Linked DNA regions of Homo sapiens: regions 2, 3 and 4 are each linked to region 1. Evidence: promoter capture Hi-C in human tissues and cell types (Jung and others, 2019). All regions are on one chromosome and are shown on one strand. Each heading gives the region's core, a stretch centred on a gene start or on the middle of the fragment in contact. The rest is flanking DNA. Distances are from core to core; before and after follow the strand shown.

Region 1 (3,471 bases), core at 537-3,036:
AGTCATTTCTATGGGTCTTTCCTGGACTGACGCATGGGCAGGGCTGCTGAGAAAAGCTGTGCCTCTGCCCCAGCACCCCCTGACCCCATCCATCAAGTCCACCCTCCAGTTGGGAGAAACAGCAGTGACCATCACATGGTAGGGAGTGAGTCATCTACCAAGTGGTACTGACCATGGTCCTCTGGGGCCCTGAGGAGAGTGTGTGTTCTGTTGGCCAAGGCACTCAGGGAGTGTGTCCTGAGAAGTAGCCCAAGATGGCATGGAAGATCATAGAAAAACAAAGAGGGAAGAGGCTCCGGCAGGGAGGCTGCACAGGAGTAAAGGTGGGCAGGGGATTAGGTGGGGGCTGTGATGGATGAAGATTGTCTGTTCATGGGCCAGTGGTCTTCAGTCCACCAGCCCCGGAGAAACTCTGTTCTACTCCTTGCTTGAGCTCTGGGCTTTCAAGGTCTTGTCTGTCAAGGTGATCATGTGGATCAAAGGAGAATTAAATTTTCTCCATTTTTATTCATCAAAGAAATGATTATGCTGGTCAGAACTGCTGAGGGCAGCTGAGCAATGGCAGGGAGGCTTATGTCGGGGAGGCCTGGGGAGGCAGTGAATCGTAGACCTCACCCATTCCCTTCTCTGACACCCCCCGCCCCCGATGCCTGCAACTCACTTTCTTGTGGCATAGCTCAGAGCTCCAGGCCTAGAAAATCAGAGGAAGATCCTGGGGGCCCAAGAGGGAGGCTGGGGACAGGTGGGGAGCGGGTAGCTCAGCCACTCAGTCTGGATGCCTGTCACCTTCCGTTCTGGCTGGCCAGCCACATGAAGGGCCCATTCTGCTGCCCATTCACAAGGGGCTTTCATCTCTGCAGCCAGTGAAGCATTGCTCCCATCTCAGCCAGCAAGGAGACACAGGGGAGGGGGTGTGCAGACTTGCCATGACCTCAGACTCCATGCTGGAAAGGCATGGCCCTGGGCCAGGGCATCCTAAGCAGCCCATCTGCCCCAATCCCCCAGCTTCCAGGCCACCAGAGTCCTCAGCAAGGGGGATCTGAGTAAGAGATGGGCAGTGACTCCCCAACTCTTGTAGAAACCTAGTCCTCCCATTTCAACAAGGGTAAGGCTGACCTCTCTTCCAGCTTATTCAGGGCAAAAGATGGCCCTCCCATCACAAGAGGGGCAGGAGTCCAGTGGGTCATGGCTCAGCCCCCTGCTCCTTTCCCAGGGAGCAAGGTAAGTATGGTGGCCTTCAGGACAGGGCAGGAAGACCAAAGCCTGAACCCTTGCGCAGCCATGGGAGAAGACAGCACATTAGAGGGTAGCCCCTGAGACCCAGGAGAACAGGGACTGACTCACGGTGTCCTTCCAGGGAGGAGGGAGGCAGTCATATCCACAGCCCGCCCTTGAAGAGGGGCGAAGTGGAGCTGGCAGGGCTGCTGGTAAAAGCAGCACCCCCGACCCCCACCCCTCAAGTCCATTCTCCAGTTGGGAGAAACAGCAGTGACCATCACATGGTAAGCAGTGAGTGGTTCTGTGAGCTGGGCCTCCTGAGAGTGGACCCTTTCAGCTGTGGCCTGTCCATCTGTCCAGCAGCCACAGCCCCTGTGATGTCACCAGCCCACTGTGTTGCTTGGCAACTTTCCAGGATTAGCATTCTGCCCCTCTCATCCCTGACATCCCACCATAGGCTGATGTTGCCATGGCAACCCGGATAGATGCTGCAGCTTTTTGGACAGCTGTACCTAGTGTGGGAAGTGCCAGGCAAAAGCAGGGAAGCAGGTGCCTCTCTACAGGCCAAGGGGGGTACCCAACCTATACGCAGACCCATTGAGCAGCCAGACTGCCCTAAACAGGGCTATGGAGTCCTTGTCCCTTCTAAGAGCTGTGGACACCTTGCCTCCAGTTCCCCTCACAGTCCTTTCTTCCTTCTGCAGTGATCACTGAGTACCTGTGTGAATGCCAACAAGAAAAATAAAACCACAGTTTGGATTCAGGAAAGGTTGCACCACCATCAGGTCTTGAAGGGTGAGTAGGAGTCCGCCAGATGCAGGAGTGGATGGAGACAGGTTCTAGACAGAGGAAGCAGAAGCCTGTGCAAGGGCTGAACCACTGTCTCCAGGCATAGATTACACCCTGCCTCTAGGTTCCTCATGGCCTGGCCTCTCCATCTTTCCCACTCAATACACTTTATGGTGGGGATAGGGTCCAGTTCAGTTCCAGACACTTAGTGCCCAGCAACAGGCCTGGCACCAAGCCAGCACGACTAAAATGCCAAGTAAAATTCAACATCAGGGCCTATGACCTCCCCTAGTACTAACCGTCTCAGCAAGTCTGTTTCCCCATCTGTGAAATGGGGCCAGTTTTGAGAAGGCTGTGGGCAGGGGTTCTCAGGTACAGATGGGGTGATGTTTTTCTTTTGGTTCTTTTGGTTTGTAAACCACTTCTTTCCCTTACAGAAAAAATTGGAAGACTAGTACATGGACATCTGTGACCTTCAGATTCCCTAATTGTTATATTGCAGCACTTTTGCTTTATCTCCTCTTTGTCTTTTTATCTAGCTATGCTTACCTATATGTATAATTTTTGCTGAACCATTTGAAAGGAAATTGTAGCGGACATTCTGACGTGTTTCTTCAAACACTTCAGGCCACGTCAACTAAGGACAGTCTGATACAACCACAGTAGCATTATCACATCTAAGAAAATTAACAATAATTCAATATTCAGAATAGGGCAGGAAGATCAAAACCTGAACCCATGCCAGGTGCTGAGAGCAGATGAGGGGCATCAGAGGGTGGGCGCCCGAGCCGAGGGGTGTCGGGCGCATCCGCTGCCCAGCGGAAGCGGCGGCCTGAGTGGAGTCACCGTGCAATGGGTGGGTGTGGCTTTGTGAGCCAAGCCCCAGGAGAACCAGAACCCACCTTTTCCTCAGTGCCCTGACCAGCTGTCCCGCAGCTGTGGCTTAAATGCCAACTTCCAGTTCGTAAATTTCTTCAATTATTCCTCCCCAAATTATTTACATATGTATATGTATTTAAATCAGGATTTAATCAAAGTTCTCACGCTGCATTTAGCTGTTTCGCTGCTTACTCTAAAAGGGCACAGGAGGGAAGATGGGTGGGTAATGGAGCCTAGAAGAGTGACGCTCCCTGGTCGGCCCTAATCCTGCCGATCGGGGCATATGCTGGAACATCCCAGTCCCACTGTCCTGGGCGGAAGTAACCGAGACCTGGAGTTGGTGGGTAGGTAAGGGTTCAGGCTGGGGAGGTTCGCGGACGGAAGCTCCCGCCCTGCGGTGCCGGATGGCCCCGCCCCTTAGCAACGGCCTAGCGTCCCTCCCTAGAGACGGGGCTGATGCATCCCCGCACTGCTCGGTGGAACCGGTACGTCGGTGAGGCGGAGGGGTTGCGGGGCCAGCGCGGGCAGCGGGACCTCGAAAAGGCGCGGAGGGCGAGTGGACGAGGGTGGGGAATGGGGTCTCCC
Region 2 (3,471 bases), core at 592-3,091, 170 kb before region 1:
AAGCCAGGTAGCACCAGGCTCCATCTCCTGGCCAAGGTTCCAAGCCAGGCCAGCCATGCCACAGACTCCCACCCCTGGAATCCCAACAAACCCAGGACACCTTCCTGCCCAAGGCCATCTCAGACCCATTTAAGCACTACAGCACAGGACAACATCCAACACCATCACAGTCCCACCAGGGCTGCCCTTGGGCCCAGGAGGCTGTTCACCACTCACACTGATAATGCTGCAGCAGCCGGTGAGTCCGCACGTCCCACACCTTCACTGTGTTGTCCATGCCGGCAGCGGCAATGCACGTCCCACTGGGGTGGAAGTCCACATAGGTGACAAAGCTGGAAAGACAGGGGCCACTATGCACTATAGGAGGTCTGCCCTGGTTCAGGACGGACCCAGAAACATTTGGTGCTTTCCCCATCCCTGTGTCCTGCCCACGCTGTTCCCTTGACCCAGACACCTCCTTTCTGTCACACTTGTTTACCAGGTGGCCAAGGGAGAGCAAGAAGAAGTAAAAGGTGAGAACAGTGGCCAGCAACAAACTAAGGTGGACTGACCAGGGAGCACATCCCACCGCCAATTTTCAATACAAGTTGAGAGAGCTATCTTCAAACCCAAAAGTTAGCCAGGCTCCCCTGGGATTTTCAAAGTTGGAGCTGGTACCCTTCCCAGGGGTGGCTGCAGGGCAGATCCTGCCAGCTGAGGCACAGGTGGGAAGGTCCAGCAGGACTACAGGGCCATTGGCCCACCCCTTTCTAGGAGACAGGCCAAGGACCCTCACCACACCCATATGTGATACCCAGGCTGGTACCATGTCCACCTCTCAAGGAGAAGCCCTTGTGGCTCCCAGCCCAACAAAGAAGGGCAGAAGCTGGGGTCTCTACTCAAATGTAGGCACCTCTCTCTCCTGATGATGTGGCACAATATGAACAGCCACCATCTGCTACAAGAACCCAACAAGAATTTTGTAAAGCCATCATCATGGATAACATACCAAGAGGCTTTAAAATGTAGTTTGGGCGACTGAGTGTCAACTGCTGCCAGACAGACATGTTGTAATCCTGACAACCAGAAAGTGAAGGAGAAAAAGAGGAGCACAAATAATTACACAGCTCCAAAGAATTGCATGGCTTGAGGTTAAGCACTCCTGCTATTTGTGGGATGGGGCCAAAGCTTCCATCCACACAGCAAAAGATACAATGCTAGGTTGCCAGACCTCGCAAAAAGCACCAGACAAGGGGCAGCAGTGATAAGGCTGCTGGTCCCACGGCTCCAGCCACTGAAGGCCACTGGGCCTCCTCATGCCCAGGTCTGTGCTCTGTGCTTGAGCGCCTACAGGTGGAGGACAGCATCTGGGGACTCACCCGCCATGCTCACAATACGAGTGGACACATTCCCGGCTGCTCTTGTCCCACAGCTTAACAGTCTTGTCATCACTGGCAGACACGATGAGCCGCCCGTCGGGGGAGAACCTGAACCGGGTGGGGCACAAGTCACATCACAGACTAACAGACGACATGGGCACCACACACCTTCTTCCACAGCCACTCTTCCCCGAGTGCCTACTATCTGCCTGCAGGAACCACCCGGGGTCACATGCCCTGCTGTGATTTTTTTTTTTTTAATTTGAATACCCTAATTTGTCTTTTCAGGAACAAATGCATTGCATCCTAGGAGGCAATGTTACTTCTGTTTATTTGGTCATATCTTAAATTATACTTTGTTTCTGAAAATAGTTAACTTTTAGCACATCATTTTTCTTTTTTCCTTCTGAAGAGTTTTTCAGGAAACTGTGACTAAATTTTGTTTTTGTTTTTGTTTTGTTTTTTAGACAGGGTATTGCTCTGTCACCCAGGCTGGAGTGCAGTGGTGTGATCTCAGCTCACTGCAGCCTCTACCTCCTGGGCTCAAGAGATCCTCCCACCTAAGCCTCCTGAGCAGCTGGGACTACAGGCGTGCACCACCACACCCAGCTAATTTTATTTTATTTTATTTTATTGTAGAGATGGGAGTCTCACTATGTTGCCCAGGCTGGTCCTCTAACTCCTGGAGTCAAAGGATCCTCCCACCTCATCCACCCAAAGTGCTAGGATTACAGACATGCACCTTCAAGCTCGGCCTATGACTTAATTTTAAATGTTATAAAAATGTTTCCTTTATTTTTTTCTTCCTGAATCTGTGAAACTTATTGATCTTTCCTGTTGCTCTTGTTTTCGTTTTCTTACGTAGCTTCATGAGCAAATAGCCCCTCTCCCATCCCAACAGCAAACTCTGACCAAAAGGGAAAAAGAGAAATTCTTCCTGACTTAGAGGAAAACCAAACATAAATAAACAAAAAGAAAAGAAAAAAAAAAAGGTGCCTGCCTCACGAGTGAGCACAGAGCAGCCTCATGCACATAAAGCCCCAGCACTGCCCCTGACGCACAGCACATGGCAACATGCAGCCGACTGCCTGCCGGCAACATTTGCATAAAGGTGGCCAAAAGCTCACCATCAGTGTCATTACTCTGGGACCAGGTCCTCCGAGTCTACATTTGACTCAAGTGCGGGTCAGCAAGACACAATCTGCCAACAAAAGGCATGAGGTCCTGGGGACTGCCACCAAAGGCCCAGTATGGACTTGACACCCCAGTTTGCTGGCCTGGCCCCTCCTGATCTCAGGACCCTAGTCATAAAGCCTCTAAGAGCCATCAGGGGTCTCCCAGGACAAAGGAATGGGGGTGCCCTGGAGAACAGTAACTTGTATGGGGTCCCCAGAAGAACACAGCTCAATAGTCCCCAACTTCTGACTCATGTGGTTTCCTAATGTCACCTGGCACCCCAACCCCTTCCTCTGAAGCAAAGATATTTGACCCATGGGGAAGCTCTGTTGAAAGGAATGAAATAAGCTAGAAGTAGGACTATCTGTCTGCAATTCTTGGACCTTGAAAGGTCCTTTGGGTTACCTGGCCCGCTGTCTGCACAGCACTGGCTCCCTGGCCAGCAGGAAGGCTAGCCTCCAGGCTAAGCCCCCCATCTCCGAAGCCTGCGCCCCCATCTGGGAGCTCTGGAGCAAAATCATCCCCTGAGAACATCCCAGAGGAAAGTAGGCAAGCCTTACTGTCAGAGAGAGTTGGGTTCAAACTCCAGCTCTGCCACAGACCCACCGTGTGCTCTGGGACAAGATACTACTGTTCTGAGCCCCCATTTCCTCATCTGCAAAATGGAAATGCACCTAGCTTGCAGAACTGTCTTAAGGAACAAAAAGAAAATGTGTAATGGTAGTACTGAAAGTACCTAATTGTTTTTGATAATAAATGGCCCCTGTTGACCCAGTTTGTGCTTTGCCAACACAGATGTCAGAGGGTCATCATGGCTGACTATGGACTAACTTACATGTCATGCATCAGCTCCATGAAGCTTCTCGACAACTTACAATGCAGGAGCTATTATTGTTCCATTTTACAGATAAGGAAACCGAGGCTGAGGAAGCTTAAA
Region 3 (3,471 bases), core at 403-2,902, 150 kb before region 1:
ACCTGGGAGGCGGAGGTTGCGGTGAGCCGAGATTGCGCCATTGCACTCCAGCCTGGGCAACAAGAGTGAAACTTCGTCTCAAAAAAAAAAAAAATTGCTTATCTTTTGTTTTTTGGAGCCAAGAAAACTTTCTTTTTCTCTTTTTTTTTTTTTTTTTTTTTTTTTTGAGACACTCTTCCTCTGTCACCCAAGCTGGAGTGCAGTGGTGCGATCTCGGCTCACTGCAACCTCCGCCTAGCAGGTTCAAGCGACTCTCATGCCTCAGCCTCCCAAGTAGCTGGGAGTACGGGTGCACCACCTCACCCAGCTAATTTTTGTTTTTTTGTTTTTTTCGTTTTTTGTTTTGAGACGGAGTCTTGCTATGTCGCCCAGGCTGGAGTGCAGTGGCGCGATCTCGGCTCACTGCAAGCTCCGCCTCCCAGGTTCATGCCATTCTCTCGCCTCAGCCTCCCCAGTAGCTGGGACTACAGGCACACACCACCATGCCTGGCTAATTTTGTTTTTGTATTTTTAGTAGAGATGGGGTTTCACTGTGTTAGCCAGAATGGTCTCAATCTCCTGACCTCGTGAGCCGCCCGCCTCTGCCTCCCAAAGTGCTGGGATTACAGGCGTAAGCCACAATGCCGGCCAATTTTTGTATTTTTATTAGAGCTGGGGTTTTGCCATGTTGCCCAGGCTGGTCTCGAACTCCTAGCTTCAAGTGATCCGCCTGCCTCAGCCTCCCAAAGTTCTGGGATTACAGGCATGAGCCACCCCACCTGGCCCTGTTTTGAGCTATTTGCAGCTTTTAACAATTGAGTAAAGTGTACTGCTATAAACAAAATTTGGAACATATTTCTCTCTACCTGATTTTTTCCAAATTTGGAAACTATTTGTGAGTATTCTTAACTTACGCTATATATTTATTTGCGTAAGTGCAATAAGAATCTGTTTTCTTTTGTAACAGGACACAGTTGGAGACACTGGTTACTTTATCAAGGCTTTGACTGGAATGGCATGCTTTCAGACAGAAACACACTCCTTTAAGGAATCAAAGTTGACTTATACAGCCAATAAAGCCCCTAAGGAAAACTGGCACCTTGTCTATACAGTACCTGTACAGGGTTCCTGACCTGTGGTAAGTAAAGAATGCCATTTTCTGACAGGCTTAGGAGCCCCAAGTTATCTTGGGACCTCAAGAGTAGACAAATTTACCCAAACTCACATAGGTATTAATATTTGACTGCACAAACTCAGGGCTGGGCTCGAGGCTTTAAAAAAGTCTTATCTGAGATTCCTTATAAAACAAAATTCCATAAAAGCCAATTACAAAAAGATCCTATGTGGTAAATAGTTATTCTTGCTGCACTTTATACAAATAATCAGGCCAAGCATAAGACTAAAGCTTATTTTTGCAGACAAATCAATCCTACCATGATTTGTCTTTTGTGAAAATGGGGACTAGAGAGACAGAAATTATGTTTCAAGATAAACTATAGTACACTTGTTATTAGATTCTAGTCTTGCCTAATGTTTTTCAATTTTTATTATTTTCTACAGTTTGGACTGAATTCTAAATTTGTCCTGGCTACAAGTCTCCAAAATGCTTTCCTTTTTTTTTTTCCTTCTTTCTTTTCCTTTTTTCCCCTATTTTCTCTGATTTGAAATCACTGAAAATTAAGCTGTGCTTTCTTAAAGCCCTGTGAACTGAAGCTAGACAACTTAAACTTCAGAACAAAATAGCAGCAACCTATTTACATACATAAGCCACTTTCATACCTGCCTACCAATGTATGGACTTCAGGGTAATATGGCCTATATCAGTTTTCCAGGATTGTTCTTTTTGTTGTTGTTGTTCGGTTGTTGTTGTTTTTCTCCCTTCCTCCCCCTATTTTCTCTTCGTAGGACATGAGCCTTCACAGCCTGCTAAAAATGATCTTTCTTAATAACGTGGGACCTACCCCTCTAGGAATAAACCATCCTACCAATGAGAGATCAGATGAAACCTGAGACCAGAGCCTTATTTTCTTTTTCTTCTTTTTTCTTTTCTTTTTCTTTTCTTTTTTTTTTTAAGACAGAGTCTGGCTCTTGTCACCCAGGCTGGAGTGCAGTGGCACGATCTCGGCTCATTGCAGCCTCTGCCTCCTGGGTTCCAGCAATTCTTCTGCCTCAGCCTCCCAGGTAACTGGGATTACAGGTGTGTGCCACATATACAGGCTAATTTTTGTATTTTTAGTAGAGACAGAGTTTCACCATGTTGGCCAGGCTAGTCTCAAATTCTTGACCTCAGGTGATCCGCCCCCTTAGCCTCCCAAAGTCCTGGGATTACAGGCAGGAGCCACCGCGCCCGGCCCAGAGTCTCATTTTCTTCTAAAATGCTTTCTCCGAAAGATTTTAAAAAGAAAAGGAGGCCGGGCGCAGTGGCCAGGTGCACTAAGGCATAAGTGACTATTTCCTCTACCCTTCTTTCATATATATTAATGAATTGTGTATTTAGTGAAAAGCTAATCAGAAACTCAAAGGAATGCAATCGTTCGTCTCTGATCTACCTAGGACCTGGAAGCCCCCTCCCTGCTTCGAGTTGTCCCACCTTTCTGGACCAAATCAATGTATATCTTACAAGTACTGATCGATGTCTCATGTCTCCCTAAAACGTATAAAACCAAGCTGTGCCCCAACCACCTTTGGCACATGTCATCAGGACCTCCTGAGGCTGTGTCACAGGCATGTCCTTAACCTTGGCAAAATAAACTTTCTTTTTTTTTTTTGAGCGGAGTTTTGCTCTTGTTGCCCAAGCTGGAGTGCAATGGTGCAATCTCGGCCCACTGCAACCTCTGCCTCACGGATTCAAGCGATTTTCCTGCCTCAGCCTCCCAAGTAGCTGGGATTAACAGGCGTGCACCACTACACCCGGCTAATTTTTTGTATCTTTAGTAGAAACGGAGTTTCACCATGTTGGCCAAGCTGATCTTGAACTCCTAACCTCAGGTGATCCACCCACCTCAGCAGGTGTCATGGCGCTGGCCAGGTAAAGGCCCATTTGCATAATAAAAGATTAAGGTGGGATGGCCAGTCTCTTCTCAGGCTATGCAAATAGAACACCTGGTCAAACCAATTCCCGGGGTCCTATGTAAATCAAACACTGCCTTGTCAAGCCTGTCTGTAAAATCAACCGCGTCTTGCCCCAAGCCCGGAAGCCCACTTGGGCACCCCCTTACTCTGAACAAGGAAGCTCTCTCTTCTTTCTTTTGCCTATTAAACTGTCCACTCTTAAATCCACTCTGTGTGCACGCTTGTGTGTGTGTCTCCACGTCTTTGTTCTCAACGAACCTCGGGTATTTCCCCAGACAATGACACCGCTTCAACTATACAAGCACCCTCCCTCTAGGCCCAGGGACTGTCATGGAAGAGGCAGATAACGTGAGATTGTAAGGGCCAGTTTTGAGGGATAGAATTTGGTCAAGGTCAGACTCTCCAAATCAAGGATGGGTA
Region 4 (3,471 bases), core at 608-3,107, 130 kb before region 1:
GCTGAGCTCAGGGCATAACGTCAGCTTCCTGGGCAGAAGAGCTGCCAAAATCAAAGCTTTGCTAGTCAGAAAATTCCTTGGGAATGTTGAGCAAGGCCACCACTGACATCATGTGCAAATTCGCAGACAGCCTCTGCACCTAAGGCTACTCAGACCCACAGCCTTGGCTCGATGGGGTGGCAGACTCTGTATGCCACCAGCACACCCACCCACAGGGCAGAGGGGTCAGGACATAGAATCAGACAGGCCCCAGGGACCCCAGTGAAGATTATAGGCAGCCATTCCCCACTCAACAGAGGAGAAGGTCAGAGCCAAGTCTGACATTCCCCCATCCCCTCTCCATAACACCCATGCATCTGGCAGTCAGACAGGCCTAAGCTAAACCTTTCCCCCCCAGCTACCCACCAGGGTCATCCCCAAGCCAGGTCAGGGCCAATGGAGGTTGGGGTGGAGAAGACAGGCTTGGCCCTATTTCCTGCCCAACTCAGAACCTTCTGGTTTCTGCCACAGGATGCCTTGCAAGCTTATCGGGGTCACTGTGGGCAGCTGGGTGAGCTAAGTTCATCTGTGCTGCCGTGACCTCTGTGCAGATGCATCAAGAACACAGAGTGCTCCGGGGTTAGGATGAGGGCAGCGCTGATAAGGTTCATGGAACCAGTGACAGAGCACACAGCTGCCCACAGAGTCACTCCCCTGTGCCCCAGCCTGGACACCTCAGCTCCCTCTCAACCCCTTCCCGAGGTGCTAGATGTATATGGGACCAGAAAGCCCCCTCTGTGTCCTCCTGTGTGAGAGCCCAGCTGCTTAGGTGTTTGTGACTCTGGGCACCTGTGGGCCTGAGATTATGTGTATCTGAGAGATATTCAGGGCGTGCATCTATGAATGTGACCAACAGGCTGCCCTGCCAGGGCAGGCAGGGGTACAAGAGTAGGGGTGGAGGAATTGGGGGATGGGAACAGGTTGCCCCACCAACATCTGGGGCAGGACCATTATGGGCAGAAGGGAGCAAAGGCCTGAGGTGCTCTTGAGGATTTGCAGGGTGGGTTTAAGGGACAGAAAAGTGAGTTGTGAGTGAATGTCAAAGAGGTCGGTGGGCCTTGTGGACTCCTGTAAGAACTTGGCTTCTACCTTGAGTGACAGTGAGCCCTGGGGGTGCTTTGAGCAGAGAAGGAACTTCACGCAGCTTAGCTTTTAAAAGATCACTCTGGCTGCTCTGAGATAGATCAGTGGTTTTCCAAGTGTGGTCCAACAGCAGCACCTGAGAACTTGCAGAAATGCAGATTCTCAGGCGCCCTGCTAAATCAGGACACCAGGGGCAGGGCACAGAGATGGCGTCACAGGAGCCCTCCAGGGATGGCTTATACCCCTCCAGCAGCCTTGCTGCAGGGCTCCTGGAGAACTCCAACCCCACCAGACCCCACCAGATAGCTGCTATGAGCAGAATGAGTTCTGTGGTCAGCTGCATGTGGGAAATGAGGCTCCTGCACTCACACCCCCTAAGTTCTCTCAACACACAGCTTTTTTTTTGTTTTTTCTCTCTTTTTTGAGACTGAGTCTTGCTCTGTCACCCAGGCTGGAGTACAGTAGCGCCATCTTGGCTCACTGCAACCTCTGCCTCCCAGGTTCAAGCGATTCTCCTGCCTCAGCCTCCTGAGTAGCTGGGATTACAGGCGCCCGCCATCACATGCTCAGCTAATTTTTGTATTTTTAGTAGAGATGGGTTTCACCATGTTGGCCAGGCTGGTCTTGAACTCCTGACCTTAGGCGATCCACCCACCTCGGCCTCCCAAAGCGCTGGGATTACAGGCTTGAGCCACCAAGCCCAGCCTAAACACACTGCCTTTTAAAGCTTCTCCAAATCCCACGAAAAAGAAACCAGGTCACCTTTGCTCAGGCCAAGTGAATTATATAATACCCTTTCTTAACTTACTTGACTATGGAATATTTTTTCCAGAGACCACTTCATGAACATAGACCACACTGAAAAATGCTACTTCAGGTACATTTTGGTTTATTTCTCCAGGCTCCTACACTGCGCCTAACACAGAGTGACCACCCAACAACTGCCCTTTGAAAAATGCATGAAGCTCCCCCATGGTGACCCTGATGAAATTCAGGTGATTTATAAACCAACTGACCTTCCCCCAAGCTCTGGAAGGACTTGGCTTCAGCACCTCATACACTGACTCCCTGGGCTCCCCTGGGAGTCCAGGGGTCTGGAGGTTCCAAGCACAAGAAGGGGAAGAGGGAGGGGTTGCCGCCTTGGCTTTCACGGAACAATGACCTCTCTGGTGCTCAGGGTCCCCACCCTGCCTGAGCTCAGGGCCAAGTCACAAGGCAGCTTCCGTAGAAGACTTTTTTTTTTTTTTTTGCCCCGAGAACCCCCCACTCAGCCCAGATGATGTGTTGTTTGTAGAAAGCTTAAGTGGGTCCCAGGAGGTCAGTCCAGCCAGCACCTGCCTCCAGGCTGGGCAGCCACTCCTCTGGTCCTTGCACACAGCCGGGCATCAGGCCTGCCTCAGGGGCCCCTTTGAGGCCTCAAGAACAACTGAGCTCTCCTTTGTTCCCAAGGAAATCTCAGTGGAGGCCCTTTCATTAGTGAGAGGCACCTGGCCATGAAGTTCAAATAGACTCAGAAGCCCGAAGGTCCAGGAAATGCCAGAGGGGCCACAGAATCACAGCTTTCCTCATCACGGGTGCCAGAAGAGCCTTGAAACCACCAGGTCTATGCCTGTATTAACAGATGGAGAATATGTACAACTATTATACATCAATAACATTTTTTTTAAAAACAGGTGGAGAATCTGAGGTCCAGAAACAAGACATGACTGTTATGGTCACACAGCTTGGCTCTCATGCCCTTGGGATCTCCCTGGTCCACGCTCTGGTCAGTTTAATAGTTCTCAGGGGTGTACAGAGCCATCGGGACAGACCTGAGCAGGATGGCCACAGAGGAGGCAGGCAGAGGGAGGGCCAGTCAGGGGCTCTTGATAGTCCTGACTTCATCAGGAATGAGCGCAGGGGAAGGGATCACGATCCCAGGGAGCCAGGCTGCACTTGCGGTAGGGAGGTGGAGGTGAGGGGTGAAGCAGAGCAACCCTGCGGCCCTGCACAGCTCAGCCCGTGTGTGTGACCCTATGTATGATGACGTCCCAATCATGGCACACCATGGCTGCACATGTGTGCCTCTGTGACAAGGTCACAGCCCCCGAGGCACGCTGTGACTACACCATGTATCTAACTGTCACAAGGTGCTGCTATCCCTATGACCAGAGTGGTTGGCCATGTGGCCATGTGTGAAAGGGTGTTTGTGACCCTGGGCAGCTGTGGGCCTGGGATTCTGCATGTATTTGAGAGACCTTCAGGGTGTGCACGTAGGAATGTGACCAGCAGACCACGCTGCCAGACACTAGGCCCTAAGAACTTCCAAACTTGAAATGTCACTTCAGAGTGGCCAGCAGTCTTCTGTCT

What was found. Contacts are between HindIII fragments. The study calls those that stand out against the background at their distance.
Region 2: a contact is called between a fragment that was not itself captured here and the fragment with the promoter of DNAH1 in region 1, in 1 of the 25 tissues and cell types used here (spleen).
Region 3: a contact is called between a fragment that was not itself captured here and the fragment with the promoter of DNAH1 in region 1, in 1 of the 25 tissues and cell types used here (IMR-90 fibroblasts).
Region 4: a contact is called between a fragment that was not itself captured here and the fragment with the promoter of DNAH1 in region 1, in 6 of the 25 tissues and cell types used here (dorsolateral prefrontal cortex, heart left ventricle, liver and 3 more).

What each region holds. Positions count from the first base shown.
Region 1 is chr3:52,314,533-52,318,003 of GRCh38, forward strand. It overlaps DNAH1 (dynein axonemal heavy chain 1), which reads left to right and starts at 1,787. Exons shown (of 78, transcript NM_015512.5): 1 at 1,787-2,013. RefSeq lists an enhancer at 2,301-3,239 and a silencer at 3,178-3,407. The HindIII fragment of the contact is 24,079 bases long and covers 1-3,471 here.
Region 2 is chr3:52,145,630-52,149,100 of GRCh38, forward strand. It overlaps POC1A (POC1 centriolar protein A), which reads right to left. Exons shown (of 11, transcript NM_015426.5): 5 at 1,359-1,466; 6 at 217-332. Among named protein-coding and RNA genes, the nearest start is that of POC1A, 7.1 kb to the right of the region's middle. The HindIII fragment of the contact is 3,176 bases long and covers 254-3,429 here.
Region 3 is chr3:52,164,303-52,167,773 of GRCh38, forward strand. No RefSeq gene overlaps it. Among named protein-coding and RNA genes, the nearest start is that of POC1A, 12 kb to the left of the region's middle. The HindIII fragment of the contact is 3,344 bases long and covers 1-3,324 here.
Region 4 is chr3:52,181,728-52,185,198 of GRCh38, forward strand. No RefSeq gene overlaps it. Among named protein-coding and RNA genes, the nearest start is that of ALAS1, 15 kb to the right of the region's middle. RefSeq lists an enhancer at 2,792-3,471. The HindIII fragment of the contact is 5,026 bases long and covers 1-3,471 here.